2 separate regions of the Homo sapiens genome follow, and region 1 is linked to region 2. The links are contacts of gene promoters, found by promoter capture Hi-C in blood cells and fetal thymus (Javierre and others, 2016). All regions are on one chromosome and are shown on one strand. The core of a region is centred on a gene start or on the middle of the fragment in contact, and the rest is flanking DNA. Distances in the headings are between cores, read along the strand shown. Region 1 has its middle 18 kb from the start of MNX1-AS1. Region 2 holds the start of EN2 (engrailed homeobox 2).

Region 1 (7,416 bases), core at 1,673-4,172, 1.6 Mb after region 2:
CATGCTAACAGGTGTAAAGTGCTGCTTGTGATTTTGATGTGCATTTCTCTGATGGTTAGTGGCATTGAGCACCTTTTTGTGTACATGTTGGTCATTTGTATGTCTCCTTTGGAAAAATATGTATTCAGGCCCTTTATCCGTGTTAACGTCAGATTATTACTTTTTTTTTCCTATTGAGATGTATGAGCTACTGATATATTTTGGATATCAACCTTTTATCAGATATGTGGTTTGCAAATGCTTCCTCCCATTCCATAGGTTGTCTTTCCATTTTGTTGACTGCTTTCTTTGCTGTGCAAAAGCTTTCTGATGTGATGAAATTGCCCTACTTCATTTTTGCTTTTGTTTCCTGTGCTTTTGGTGTCAAATCCAAAAATCATTGCCAAGATCAATATCAATGAGATTTCTCCCGTGTTTTCTTCTAGGAGTTTTGCCATTTCAGGTCTTACATTTAAGCCTTTGATCCATTTCGAGTTAATGTTTGTGAGTGGTGTAAGATAAGGGTCAAGGTTTATTCTTATGCTTGTGTGTATCTATTCTCCAACACCGTTTATTGAAGAGATAATACTTTCCCCATTGTCTATTCTTGGCATCCTTGTCAAATATTAGTTAACCTGAGCCAGGCATGGTGTTACGTGCTGTAATCCCAGCTACTTGGTGGACTGAGATGGGAGGATCACTTGAGCCTAGGGGTTCAAGATCAGACTAGGCGCTTTAGTGAGACCCCATCTCTATAGGAAATAAAGTAGAAAAAATATCAGTTAACCGTATATGTGTGGGTTTACTTCTAGGCCCTAGATTTTGTTCCATTGGTCTATGTGTCTGTTTTTATGCCAGAACCATGCTCATTTTTATCACATAGGTTTACAATGGAGTTTGAAATCAGGAAATGGAATGCCTCCTGCTCTGTTCTTCTTTCTCAAGACTGTTTTGGCTATTTGGGGTCTTTTGTGGTTCCATATGAATTTTGGGATTGTTTTTTCTACTTATACAAAAAATGTCATTGGGATTTTGACAGGGATTGCATCGAATTTGTAGATTGCTTTGGGTAGTACCGACATTTTAACAATATTAAGTCTTCTGATTCACGAACAGGGGATGCCTTTCCACTTATTTGTAGCCTTCTTTGATTTCTTTCTTCAGTGTCTTATAGGTTTTATTACACAGATCTTTCGCCTCCTTGGTTAAATTTACATGGAAGTATTTTATTCTTTTTGATGCTATTGTAAATGGGATCATTTTCTTAATTTCCTTTTCAGACAGTTCGTAGTGTATAGAAAGGCTACTGATTTATGTTTGTTGATTTTGTATCCGTCAACTTTACTGAATTTGTTGATCAGTTCTAACAGTTTTTTGTGGAGTCTTCAGGGTTTTCTGTGCATAAGATCATGTCATCTGCAAACAGAGACAATTTTACTGCCTCCTTTCCTATTTGATGCTCTTTATTTCTTTCTTTTGCCTAATTGCCCTGGCTAGGCTAGGACTTCCAGGACAATGTTGAATAGAAGCAGTGACAGTGGGTATCCTTGTCTTGTTCCTGATCTTAGAGGAAAAGCTTTCAGCTTTTCACCATTGAGTATGATGCTAGCGGTGAGCTTTTCATATATGGTCCTTACTATATTGAGGCACGCACGTTCCTTCTACCTTATACATAATTTGTTGAATTTTTTTTTATCATGAGAGGATGTTGAGTTTTGTTAAACACTTTTTATTCATCGAATGAGATGATCATATGGTTTTTGTCCTTCATTCTGTTAATGTGGTATATTGTACTTATTGATTTGTAATATTGAACCATCGTTGCATCCAGAGATAAATCCCACTTGATCACAGGGAATGATCCTTTTAAAGTGCTGTTGAATTCAGTTTGCTGGTGTTTTGTTGCGGATTTTTCCATCCATGTTTATCAGGGATATTGGTCTGTCATTTTCTCTTCTGGCTGTGTCGTTATCTGGCTTTGATGTCAGCAAAATAGTAGACTTGTAAAATGAGTTGGGAAGTGGTCCCTAAAAGGGAGGTTTTTTTTTTTTTTTTTTTTTTTGAGATGGAGTCTCACTCTGTCACCCCCAGGCTAGAGTACAATGGCGTGGTCTTGGCTCACTGCAACCTCCGCCTCCCGGGTTCAAGTGATTCTCTCGCCTCAGCCTCCCAAGTAGCTGGGACTATAGGCACGTGCCACTACACCTGACTAATTTTTGTATTTTTGGTAGAGACAGGCTTTCACTATGTTGGCCAGGCTGGTCTCGAACTCCTGACCTCGTGATCTGGCCTCCCAAAGTGCTGGGATTACAGGCGGGGCTACCGCGCCTGGCCAATAGAGAAGTTTTTAAAATCTTTGAAATTGCCTTCTCTGGCTGCCTTTCATGATGGATCCCAGGAAGGGACAGAGGGGAAGTGACACAGCCTTCACACTCCCCAGTCAGAACGTCCGACCTGGGTGTGTGCAAGGGACACAGGCCTCAACAAGCTGTGAGGGAGCAGACACCAGGAACTGACTTAGACCAGAGGCAGCAACATCTGAGATATGGGAGGATGGGGATCTAGTGGTGGGGAAAGAAAAAAGGGGGCGGAATTCAGGCCAAGGGAATTGTGGAATACTGCCAAATGTGTGATGAGAAGCTTTAGTATTTGCCTGCTGGGCATTAAAATACCATGAATCATTGACAAGAAACCAAACAATGCTGGATCTATATAACAATTTGAACCTATATTGCTCCAAGTAAAATCAAATTAGAAGCCTTTCCCCAATTAGGTTATGCAAACGCTGACACAGAATAGAGTTGTGTTTGCTGTACACATGACGCAACATCCACCTTACACCTCGCACAGCGCAGATACTCTCAAGCACACCCATCTCGACACCGGGGTTGTGTCAACATTCTACCCCTAGATAATAAATACGAGACACAGCACACACTGCTTTTAATTGCATCGATAAACTGGGATTAACCCCCCAAGTCAGGTTTCACTATTGCAATTAAATGTCCTCAAATAAATTGTTTCCTCAATAAACAAATGGAAGGGGCTGTGTTTGCCCTGAATAATAACAGGTGTAATATTTTACTCGCTAAAGTTAAGTATTAAGTGGAATCACTTGCTAGTCCTGATTTATTCCCTGAGATCGGAAAGTCATTTTTCATACGTCATGTGCTGCTTCAGTACTGTATAAACAGCTAATAATGCACTAAATCAACCTGGCACGACCTTGCATTTCACCTAAAGCCACCAAGCTTCAAAATCCTACAGTTGGGTGTTCTCACGAGAGCCAAAGAAAACAGATGTCCTGCAAAAATCGCTGGCTGACTGCTTTTTGGGTTTTTGTCTTTAGCTTCTAAAATTCAAAATGTAAGCATTCCATAAAAACCTCGTGAGTCGTTGAACAAGCCAGTAGCTCTTTATGGACCGTGTTCTCACTGGTCTTCTGGTTGCTGCAGACGAGGCCGGCAGGCTCAGCCTACGGGAAGGCCACAGTGGGAGGACTTCCCCTGCGCCTGGGCTGAGTCCCCACCTTCCACGACCCTGTCCCCTTCATCGGTGAAACAGCACAAGACATTCCTAGAGTGACATTTCTCCCTTAATCACAGAAATGCTTGCCTCATTTTTGATGTGTTTGTGGACGTTGCATGGTTTTCAGGGCTTTTGATGTACATAGGTAAAGTCAGTATATCAATGCTGCCCTTTATTTTTAAGAGGACAGGGAAGGGAAAAGACAGTGAAGTGTCCTTGGAGGTTGGGGGTGAACATTATATTGGTTCTCAAATAACTAGGACCTATTCTTTTTCAATAGCATAGAATAACATTCTTGTTCTAGAATAGTCTACAGGGTGTAGGCCAGCGTTTTCTAAATGGTGAGTGGTGATTTGCTAAGCTATTAATATTTAATATAAACTATTAAAATTAACTCATTACTAGTTCATTTTATTTGGTCTTTTCAAATTCGTGGGTTTTTTCCCCTCTGGTTTCTTAGCCAGATACTTAGTAATGAGAATTTGTAACCTATGTGTTTTGATGTTCATTATAAATCGTTTTTTTTTTAAATAGAGATGAGATCTTGCTATGTTGTCCAGGCTTGTCTCAAACTCCTGAGCTCAAATGATCCTCTCGCCTCTACCTCCTAAAGTGCTGGGATTACAGGCATGAACCACCACACCTGGCCATAATTGTTTCTTAATTTGTCTGTATATGATCTTTCTAGAATTCATTTGGTTGCTGCTTAAACTTTGCACCATGAAAGACCCCCTTTTTTTCCCCTAATAACCTTATACTTGCATACCAAGCTGTATTTAAAATAATGCATTGCTTTAAAACAATTAATTAAATCTATATTGAGCATCTTGTCCACATGAGAGGGAGAACACACATCCTGCACTGAGGCAAGCTAACTCCATTTCCAACCAGAGATTCCGAAGACTAGCTAAGGCCACCTCTTGAAGAGAGAGCGCAGGATTTCAATTAAGCTTTTATAAATAACATATGGGAATTACCTGGAAGACACTGCCCTCCCCTTCCCCATGGCTACCTTCCTAGGTGCCTAGAGACCTGGACACCCTAGGTTGGGATTTATTGATTTAGTTAAGGAGCAATTTAGGAAACCTTTTATTAACATACTCTCGTCATCAGCATCACTGTCACCTTTCCATCATTCTGAGTGATCACCACTCTACACTTATTGTTTGTTAGTGAATCTTTCATACTTAGATCACCTAAGGGGAAATGCTTGCTGGGCTCCTCCACAGACAGAAAATATGCAGAGGAATCATGGCACAACTTACATACATCAAAACAGCGCTCCTTTTAATTGATGGCCTATAGCTTAAGAGAGAGAGTTGGCTGGGCACGGTGGCTCACACCTGTAATCCCAGCACTTTGGGAGGCCGAGGCAGGCGGATCACAAGGTCAGGAGATCGAGACCATCCTGGCTAACATGGTGAAACCCCGTCTCTACTAAAAATACAAAAAATTAGCCGGGCGTGGTGGCGGGCGCCTGTAGTCCCAGCTACTCAGGAGGCTGAGGCAGGAGAATGGCGTGAACCCGGGAGGCGGTGCTTGCAGTGAGCCGAGATTGCGCCACTGCACTCCAGCCTGGGCGACAGAGTGAGACTCTGTCTCAAAAAAAAAAAAAAAAAGAAAGAAAAAAAAGAGAGTTTGCCTTCCCCAAACTATTATAAAACATTTTTAGATGATAAAGGGCATCAGATGCAGAAGATAAAATGTTTAACACATAGGACCTCATTCAGACCATGAATATAGAGCTATAGGTAGTTGTAAGCTCCTAGGAATATTTGATGGGAAATATATTGATAATACAATTATTCTTTTGAAAGGGACTGTAATGATGGCGAATTTCATTTAATAAATTAATAAGAACCATTTGATTCAAACATGAGCCTTTTAATGATACACAGAGTTAATAATATCTGTCTTGCCACCTAAAGAGGTTTTTTTTTTTTTTTTTTTTTCTGAGATGGAGTCTCGCTCTGTTGCCCAGGCTGGAGTGCAGTGGCACAATCTCAGCTCACTGCAAGCTCCACCTCCCAGGTTCACACCATTCTCCTGCCTCAACCTCCCGAGTAGCTGGGACTACAGGTGCCAGCCACCGTGCCCAGCTAATTTTTTGTATTTTTAGTAGAGACGGGGTTTCACTGTGTTAGCCAGGATGGTCTCAATCTCCTGACCTCATGATCCACCCGCCTCAGCCTCCCGAAGTGCTGGGATTACAGGCGTGAGCCACCATGCCCGGCCCTAAAGAGGTTTTAAAAGACTGCATCGAGCGATCCACAATTGAGCACCTATCTGCCGTTTATTTTTTATTTTTTGAGAAAAAGTCTTGCTCTGTCACCCAGGTTGGAGTGCAGTGGCACGATCTTGGCTCACTGCAACCTCCGCCTCCTGGGTTCAAGCGATTCCCCTGCCTCAGCCTCCTGAGTAGCTGGGACTATAGGTGCCCACCACCATGCTCGGCTAATTTTTGTATTTTTAGTAGAGACGGTGTTTCACCATGTTAGCCAGGATAGTCTCTATCTCCTGACCTCATGATCCACCCACCTCAGCCTCCAAAAGTGCTATCTGCCCTTTATTAATGCAATGTTGGTTTTTATATTAAAACACATTTAAGTGTAGTCTCTGAAAATATTAAAGAAAAACAAATGTAAAATAATGCTGCAATATCCTTATCTTATAGTTGTGAATAAAAATATATAATTTTCCAAAAAATATGACTTTTTCTTTTTTATTAAATTACATTAATAAATCATTTATTTTTGAGACAGAGCCTCATTCTGTCACCCAGGCTGGAGTGCAGTGGTGCGATCACGGCTCACTGCAGTCTTGACCTCCTGGGCTCAAGCGATTCTCCCACCTCCACCTCCCAAAGTGCTGGGATTGCAGGCATGAGCCACTGTGCCTGGCCAAAATGTGGCTTTTAAAATTTTAGGACTCCGTTGCAAAATAGAAATATAAATGACCAAATCTGTGTTAAAGAGTCTCAGAACAGGATCTTAGAAGTTAGTGATGTGTGCGAAGAAGGTGAGAACACGCATGTCTGTGTTTCCTATACAGCCTGGGCGTTGTGTCATTGCTGTGGGGAGAAGTGCAGCTTGGGAGAGGGAGCCTGGCTTTGAAGCCAGGCAGGTCTAGGTCCCAGTGGCTGTCACTGCAGGTTGTGATGGGACCTCGGACAAGCTCGCCAATCCTTCTTAGCATCAGTTTCCTTATCTTATCTGTAAATGGAGATGATATGTGTCAGTCCTAACGGGGATGCTGGGAACATTGAAAATACATCGGAACACCCAGCACATCATGAGAATGTACACTCGCTGGCTCACCTCGCTCTCCTGGCAGGATATGTTCTATTTTCTATGAATTTATTGTAGCTGATGGTGGTGGTGGGAATCTGTACGGGTATGTGTGCCTAAAAACTGAAATTGGAAACCAGAAGCTAAAGCTATTTGTCTTAACTCCACGCCAGACTGTGGTCAAAGCACATTGGTCAAAGCACATTGCCTCATCTACTCCTCATATTTCCATGAGTTGATTCTATAGTTGCCCCATTTTACAGATCAAGAGACTGAGGCTCAGAGAAATGAGATGACCTGTCTAAAATCACCTGCCTGGCTGGACGCGGTGACTCATGCCTGTAATCCAGCACTCTGGGAGGCCAAGGCAGCAGATCACTTGAGGTCAGGAGTTTGAGACCAGCCTGGTCAATATGGTGAAACCCTGTCTCTACTAAAAATACAAAAAAATTACCAGGGTGTGGTGGTGTGTGCCTGTAGTCCCAACTATTCAGGAGGCTGAGGCAGGAGAATTGCTTGAACCCAGGAGGCAGAGGTTGCAGTGAGCCGAGATCGCACCATTGCATTCCAACCTGGGTGACAGTGAGACTCCATCTCTAAATAAATAAATAAATACATTAAT
Region 2 (7,088 bases), core at 4,086-6,585:
AGAAAAGAAAATGTCAGCCTCTGTGAGGTGGGGCTGGTGTTTCAGGGGTTCCTTTTGAACATCTTGTTTTCTTTCCAAAGGTCAAAAGGAAGGCAGTGGATACATACTAGAATTTCTTCCATCTGTGAATGGTCGCAAGGCTGGAGAAGGTGGCTAGTGTACTTCAAGGCTCATTATCCTTTTCTGTGTTTTCCTTCCTGTTTTGGTAGGCTTAGCCAGCTCAAGCCTTGGGTGCCATTCTTCAAATTCCTTTGCCAAACTAATTTTACTTATTTGACTGGATTATTTGAGAGGTGCCACTTTCTTCTGGGTTGCTGTGATTTTGAGGGGGCATTTTCATAAGAGTCCAGGCATTAGGTGGTGAAACAGTCTGTGCTCCCAAACCTGCCCCTCCCAGGGCTCCCGGGAGACTCCAGAGTGCAGGTCTGTCTGGGGAGTCTCAGGGGTGGGCCTTGAGTGGAAGTGGGCCCACCTTCCACAGGAGTCCAAATTTTATAGGAATAAGAACAGCAGTAAAACAGGACAAGAGAGCAGGCAGGGAGCTGCCAAGGAAAGGCGATTCTTGGGAAGGCAGGTCACCCAGAATAAGGCTCCCCTGGCGCTGGAGAGCCGGAAGGGGGAGCGGGCACAGAGGACCTGGTTTAGGTGTGGGGGTTACTAGCACAAGTAGAGCCATCCTTCAGATTCTCCTTCAGAAGCAGCTGCTTTCCAGAGAAACCAGGTGAGGGACAGTTTCTGCATCTTTACACGCCAGCTCTGGAGATCTGCCCACCTGCCCCCAGCCGCCCCCCTCCCCGGGCGAGCCTGGGCTAAGTATCAAGTCAGGACAGAAGGGCGGTCCCCAGTCGGCTCCTGGCCCACTCTGCTTCCCCAACACCTAGGGAGCTTGGGCTCAGCACAGGCGCTTCTCCAGCGATCGGGGCAGAACCAGGACGTGCAATGCGACTGCCCCCCCCTCCCCGCTCCCCGGCAGAGCTTCTGTCCGCGCCAACCCACCCACCAGGCTCTGCCCGCGCCACGCGCGCCCCTGGCAGGCCTGGGGCGGGGAAAGGCGAAGCGCTGGGCACGCGAGGGCCTGTGCACCCCAGTTCCTACGACGCTCCTGGCCCTTTTCAGGCCCGCCGCTGCCGCATTTAACCCCCTCCTTCCGGGGGTTATTCTGAAGAAGTCTCAGACCCTAGACCCAGCCTCCCAGACCCCGTCCCCGAGCTCGCCCGGTGGGCCTGTAGGCCGGTCCTCCTTCGCCCAGAGGAGAGCGCAGACACGCAATGTCCGCCCGTTGGCCCCGCCCGCCCCACCCCTGCTCCCCGCGCCCCTTCGTTTCGGCCTTTGTCTACAGGCCGGGTCGGAACGTCAGCCCCAGGAGCCGACGGTGGCTCTCTGCTCGCCCCGGGGAAGGTGTTGCTCTCCTATCGGCCCCAATTCCCCGCCCGGCGCCTGGGGCTTGGCTGCGGGGCTCGGCTCCCAGCCGAGGGCGCAGGGCTGGCCAGGCCTGCTTTGGCTGAGGTGGAGATCTCGCTCTCAGGGATTGTTGGGCGTCTCTGCCCCGCGAGTAACGAGACCGCCGCGAGCGAACGGCTTTCATTGAGTCCATTTTTCCAAGTGTCACCACGTCAAGCTAGAGAAGCGAGGCGAGTGGAGGGGACGCAGAGGGGCCGGAAAAGTCACCCTTCTCTGGCCTCGTTTTCAGATAAAAACGGGAGCCTGGCTCGGCATCCGGGCGCCCGGTGTCTCCGGGGCGCTTCACTGAGGTTTTGTTTGCAAAACTAGCGTCCGTGTCCTGAAGCGCACGGCGTCTGGAAGCTGCTTTCCTGCTCGCCCTCTCCGAGGCCCCTCTTTGTGCAGCGAGCCTGAGAAATATGGAGGACCGTCCTCCGCAAGCGGGTGGTCGCGGGCGCTCTCCGATTCCTGGGTGAAGCTAGAGGGAAAACGGGGTTCCCGGGTCAGTGCCCCACTTTCCATCCCGGGAGAAACTAATGTCCGGAGAGGGCTCGTCTGATCCGCACAGAAAGGCCGACCTTGAGGGCGGCGGTCGTTCGGGGGAGAAAGCGGAGGCTCTGGGCTCGCGGGAGCGCGGCAGCCGGGGCTGGCATCGCAGAGGAGAGACACGCCACTGCCCCGCATCCCCAGAAAGCGCGAGGCGCCGTCCCAGCTGGGGCAGGCGGCCGAGGCCGGTCCTCATGCGCGCTTCTCGAAGCTTCCTGAAACACCTTGCGGAGTTCCGTGTGTATAGAACTCAGCACCGCCCAGCCCCTGGGCAGCTCAACTTTCTGCAGCCCCATCCCAGCTTCCCCGGCCCTTTGAACGGTGACCCCTCTTACCGCTTTCCCAGAGTTGTTTCGTGTTTGGGTCCACTCTGGGGGGCCCGGTACCCTCTAGTTATCTCTCTCTTCATTTATTTCTCTTTCTCCTATTCCTCCCTCCACCTCTCACCTTCCTCCTTTCCAGGAGAGCGACCCACGAATTCCTCTTCCTCCAGCCAACCCCAGGGCCCAGCCCGCAGACCCTGCGAGGGCAGGTCTCTGCCCACCGGCCCGCCAGGCGCCCTGGAGGTGACGCTCTGCTTCCCAGAGTCTCTGTTGCAGCCACGAATTGGGGTCTGGGTCGCAGGAAAGCACAGGGCTGAAGCCCAGCGTCTTGGGGCCATTTATACTGAGGCAGTCAGAGGCAAAGAGTCCCAAGAATTCAGAAAATACTTCTCAGGAAGCCGCCTAATTGGCTTTCATGGGACAGGTGGAGCCATTAACCTGGGATGGTTTTGCAGGAACCAAAGAGCTCAGGGCCCCTCCTCCCCCCAATATCATGTTCAGGAGACCCAGAGTCGTTGGACCCTCCCTTTCCTGACTGGTGATCATCAGAGTTTCCAGAGTTGCAGAAAATTCTCCCCCCAAAAAACCAAGTAAGCGTCAATAAGACTTCCCACAAACTCTCACCAGCCCTATTTTCCCGGGGGGCAGGTAGACTGTGGGGTTTGATTTTTTGAGACTCGGGGAGGACCCCTGGCAGATGTGTGCCTAGCCAGAACATTTGGTAAGGACTCCTCCAATGAAGAAAAAGTGGAGGAATCCAGCCCCAGCGAGAAGAGGCTTCCCCACCCTGCCCTAGACACACCGGACAGAGGGCACACTCTGACCAGAGCCACGTCCAGTGGCCAGGAGGCCAGCCCAGCACCTCCTCCCCCACCATTCCCGTCCTGGGTGGGGGGGTAATTTTCCTGGGAGCAGCTGTGGGAACTGTCGTTTCTCATCCCAGCCCAGCCAGCACTCTGAAGCCTGCAGGGGAAGGACAGCACGTGGGATGGACACTGGGGAAGGAGCTTCGCAAGGCCAGGGTGCAACCTTCAGGCCCCAGGTGGCCTGGCAGGCCACGCTGCCTCGGAGATGCTTGCCAGACTCCCCAAGTTCACTCAGGGCCTGGCAGCAACCTGCTGGCTGCCTCTGCGGGGGTCTGGGTTGCTGAGCACGGTGCAGCTGCCCAGGGCCAATCAGCCCTAGGGTGTCCGTGCCAGGCTGCGGCCTCCCCGCCTCCCCCGCACTGAGGGTACTCATGGCGTGCAAATGCTCCCGCACCCCCAGAGCTGCCCTATCGGATGTTTCCAGGAATTCACACATTTCCATAAAAATGCATTTTAAATGATGGACAGGCGAGCCTGGGGTAACAACGGGTGTTTGGTGGGTAGACAAGAGCAAATGGGAAGGAGCCCGAGGGAGGAGGGGGAAGAGAAGAGGAAACAGAACTTCCAGTTGGACATTCTGACAACAGCTGGAAGGAAAGTCTAGAAAAGATGAAGAGAGAGGAGGGGAGAAACCAACTGGGGCTCCCACCCTTGCCGTTGGATTCCTAATTCTCGTTTCAAATGGGCCCTGCTCTCCGGCAAAATTAGTTTAAAGGATTTTAAAACAAAGAAAACGAGATGACCGGTCTGGGAGCTCCTCAATCAGAGTAGAGAAGTTAGAGGGGGGCGGGCGACTTGGTTTTGAAGTCTTAGCTGAACAGTCACCCCTCCTCTCCTTGGCAAAAAGGATTCCTTTAGAACCTCCGAGGCTCCTGGATTTCTCCCTTCGCAAATGGAGCCGCATACTGCATTCCCCCGCTCTTTCGGATCGCTAAGCATGTTTCATGAGGGTCGCTGTCCCCGGGTGGAATGCGGCCGTATGCACGCGCCTCCCTGCACACGCACACACACGCACACTTACAATAAGTGTCTGCAGGAGGAGTGTCCTGCGCGCCAGCTCTGCGTTTAAGACAGGAAGCTGCCGGGTTACCGAGTCAAATGGGAGTGACACTATTCCTCTCCATCAGCAAGGAAAGCGGACCACAAAAGTCCCTTTGTATCTCGGCAGCTCATTTAATATTATTTATGCATTTTGTGCAAGGAATTGTGGGATTTCGCCCCACGGTAAACAATATGGAAATCTTAAAAATAGCGATCTTCCTGTGCGTGTCCACCTACGCGCCCCGGGGTGACCTGGCGGGGCTGTCGCCGGGTGACTCACACCCCTGAACCGCGAAGCGACAGGGAAAGCGCGGGCGAGCGCAGGAGACGCGGTCGGGGGTCTCTCCGGGTTCCTGGGCTCCCGCACCCGGAGCGGGGGACGCGGCCGCTTTAAGGGGAGGAGGGGCGGCGGGCTGCTCCTGTCACCCAGCGGCGGCCGGAGCGTCACGTGGGCGCGCGGCGCCGCGGCCATTGGCCCGAGGCACGTGTCCAGGAGACCGGCCTGCGACGTCACTCGAGGGGGCTCTGTTAAAAATAAGAACAAAAATCCAGAGTGAAAGTGTCTCAGGTTGCGCCGAGTGGCCTGGAAATTTCCGAGCCCGCGCGGAGGCCGAGGCGGCGAGGGCGGCGGACGGCCGGGGAGCGCGGGCGGCCCAGCCCGGCCCGGCCGGGCCCTGGCCTCGCGTCTCTCACCCATGCGACTCGGGCCGCGGAGCTCTGCGGGGCTCGGCGGGGGCGCGGCCGCACGCCGGTGGGGCGCCCCGGCCCGCAGCGGGGCGGCGGCCGCGAGGAGGGGGCCTCCATGTGCGTGCGGGCGGTGGCGGGCGCGCTGACCGCGGGCGCCCGGCACCCTCGAGGGCCGGCTAGGGCGTGCGGGCGGGGACGGCCGGGCGGCGGCGGCGGCCGGAGCCGGCCCGGGCGGGCGTGAGCGCCGGGGAACGCGCTGCCTGCATGCGCGCAGCTCTCGCCCCGGGCGGCCCAGGCGGCGGCGCCGGAGCCCGAGGCGGCCGGACGCGGAGAGGAGCGGGGAGCCCGGGAGGCGGCCCGCGTCCCCGCCGGACCACTGCGACTGTCTAGACCCCGGCTGCGCGGCGAAGTCGAGGACTTGGCTCTGTTGAATCTCTCATCGTCTGGGCGAGCGGGGCGGCTCGTGGTGTTTCTAACCCAGTTCGTGGATTCAAAGGTGGCTCCGCGCCGAGCGCGGCCGGCGACTTGTAGGACCTCAGCCCTGGCCGCGGCCGCCGCGCACGCCCTCGGAAGACTCGGCGGGGTGGGGGCGCGGGGGTCTCCGTGTGCGCCGCGGGAGGGCCGAAGGCTGATTTGGAAGGGCGTCCCCGGAGAACCAGTGTGGGATTTACTGTGAACAGCATGGAGGAGAATGACCCCAAGCCTGGCGAAGCAGCGGCGGCGGTGGAGGGACAGCGGCAGCCGGAATCCAGCCCCGGCGGCGGCTCGGGCGGCGGCGGCGGTAGCAGCCCGGGCGAAGCGGACACCGGGCGCCGGCGGGCTCTGATGCTGCCCGCGGTCCTGCAGGCGCCCGGCAACCACCAGCACCCGCACCGCATCACCAACTTCTTCATCGACAACATCCTGCGGCCCGAGTTCGGCCGGCGAAAGGACGCGGGGACCTGCTGTGCGGGCGCGGGAGGAGGAAGGGGCGGCGGAGCCGGCGGCGAAGGCGGCGCGAGCGGTGCGGAGGGAGGCGGCGGCGCGGGCGGCTCGGAGCAGCTCTTGGGCTCGGGCTCCCGAGAGCCCCGGCAGAACCCGCCATGTGCGCCCGGCGCGGGCGGGCCGCTCCCAGCCGCCGGCAGCGACTCTCCGGGTGACGGGGAAGGCGGCTCCAAGACGCTCTCGCTGCACGGTGGCGCCAAGAAAGGCGGCGACCCCGGCGGCCCCCTGGACGGGTCGCTCAAGGCCCGCGGCTTGGGCGGCGGCGACCTGTCGGTGAGCTCGGACTCGGACAGCTCGCAAGCCGGCGCCAACCTGGGCGCGCAGCCCATGCTCTGGCCGGCGTGGGTCTACTGTACGCGCTACTCGGACCGGCCTTCTTCAGGTGAGCCCGCGGGGACCACGCGTCCCGGCTCGCCGCGGGGAGGCCCGCGGAGCTGGGGGGCGGTGCTGGCGCGGGAACTTACCGGGAGGAAAACATCTCGAACCTCCCCCGCGCACACGCACAAAGACTCACGCGACATTGTGTGAAGCTGACGCCGGCCCGGGCAGCGGCCAGGAGTCCAGCGGCAGGACTGATTCGCTAGGGGGTACAGACTTCTTAGGACCGCAGAAGGGACCTTCTTTCTTTCTCTGTCTCTCTCTCTCCTTCCTCTCTCCCTGTCTCCCCTCTCTGTCTTCCACCCCGCCTTGGCGCATCTCTTCCCAGCCCCTAGCCCATGTCTCCCCCACTGTAGTTTTTTTTGGTGGGAACGTGGTGGCTGGAAGATGGGCCCGGAAGTGCACACTCTCATCCCCTTCCCTACGATCTTCCAACTCAGGCCAGGCCGGGGACGCATGCCCCAGCCCACCCCAGACTTGTCCTACCATCCGGTTATCCCGGCTGTGCTCGGGGAAGAAAAGGCGAGGCCCTTTGCCGCTCTGCCTTCTGCCCCTCGGGCCTGCGCTGACCGGTGGGACTCAGGAGGATGCACACAGGGAAGGAGGAAAATAAAGGCGCCCTTTCCCCTTGGCTCCACTTTGTTTGCCAGCGCCAGCCCGCAGTGGTGGGGCTCAGCCCCCTTCCTGCACACAGCGAGGACAAGGGAGGCAGCCGTCCCTCCCGGCACCTGCCATCCCCAAATAGAAAGGACCTTCTCTCAGGGTTTCCTGGGGGCTGCTGATGGGAAAGAGGCAGCATTCGCAGGGGCCCTGCAGAGATGCT

What was found. Contacts are between HindIII fragments. The CHiCAGO score rates a contact against its expected background, and 5 or more counts as called.
Region 1: a fragment that was not itself captured here is called in contact with the fragment with the promoter of EN2 in region 2 in 2 of 17 cell types (total B cells and naive B cells); the score reaches 8.4 in total B cells.

Annotation. Positions count from the first base shown.
Region 1 is chr7:157,025,247-157,032,662 of GRCh38, forward strand. No RefSeq gene overlaps it. Among named protein-coding and RNA genes, the nearest start is that of MNX1-AS1, 18 kb to the left of the region's middle. The HindIII fragment of the contact is 611 bases long and covers 2,618-3,228 here.
Region 2 is chr7:155,452,794-155,459,881 of GRCh38, forward strand. EN2 (engrailed homeobox 2) reads left to right here and starts at 5,336. Exons shown (of 2, transcript NM_001427.4): 1 at 5,336-6,269. The coding sequence starts at 5,585. It overlaps EN2-DT (EN2 divergent transcript), which reads right to left and starts at 4,325. Exons shown (of 3, transcript NR_186580.1): 1 at 4,197-4,325. RefSeq lists enhancers at 1,023-1,548, 1,549-2,074, 3,998-4,989. The HindIII fragment of the contact is 14,368 bases long and covers 2,196-7,088 here.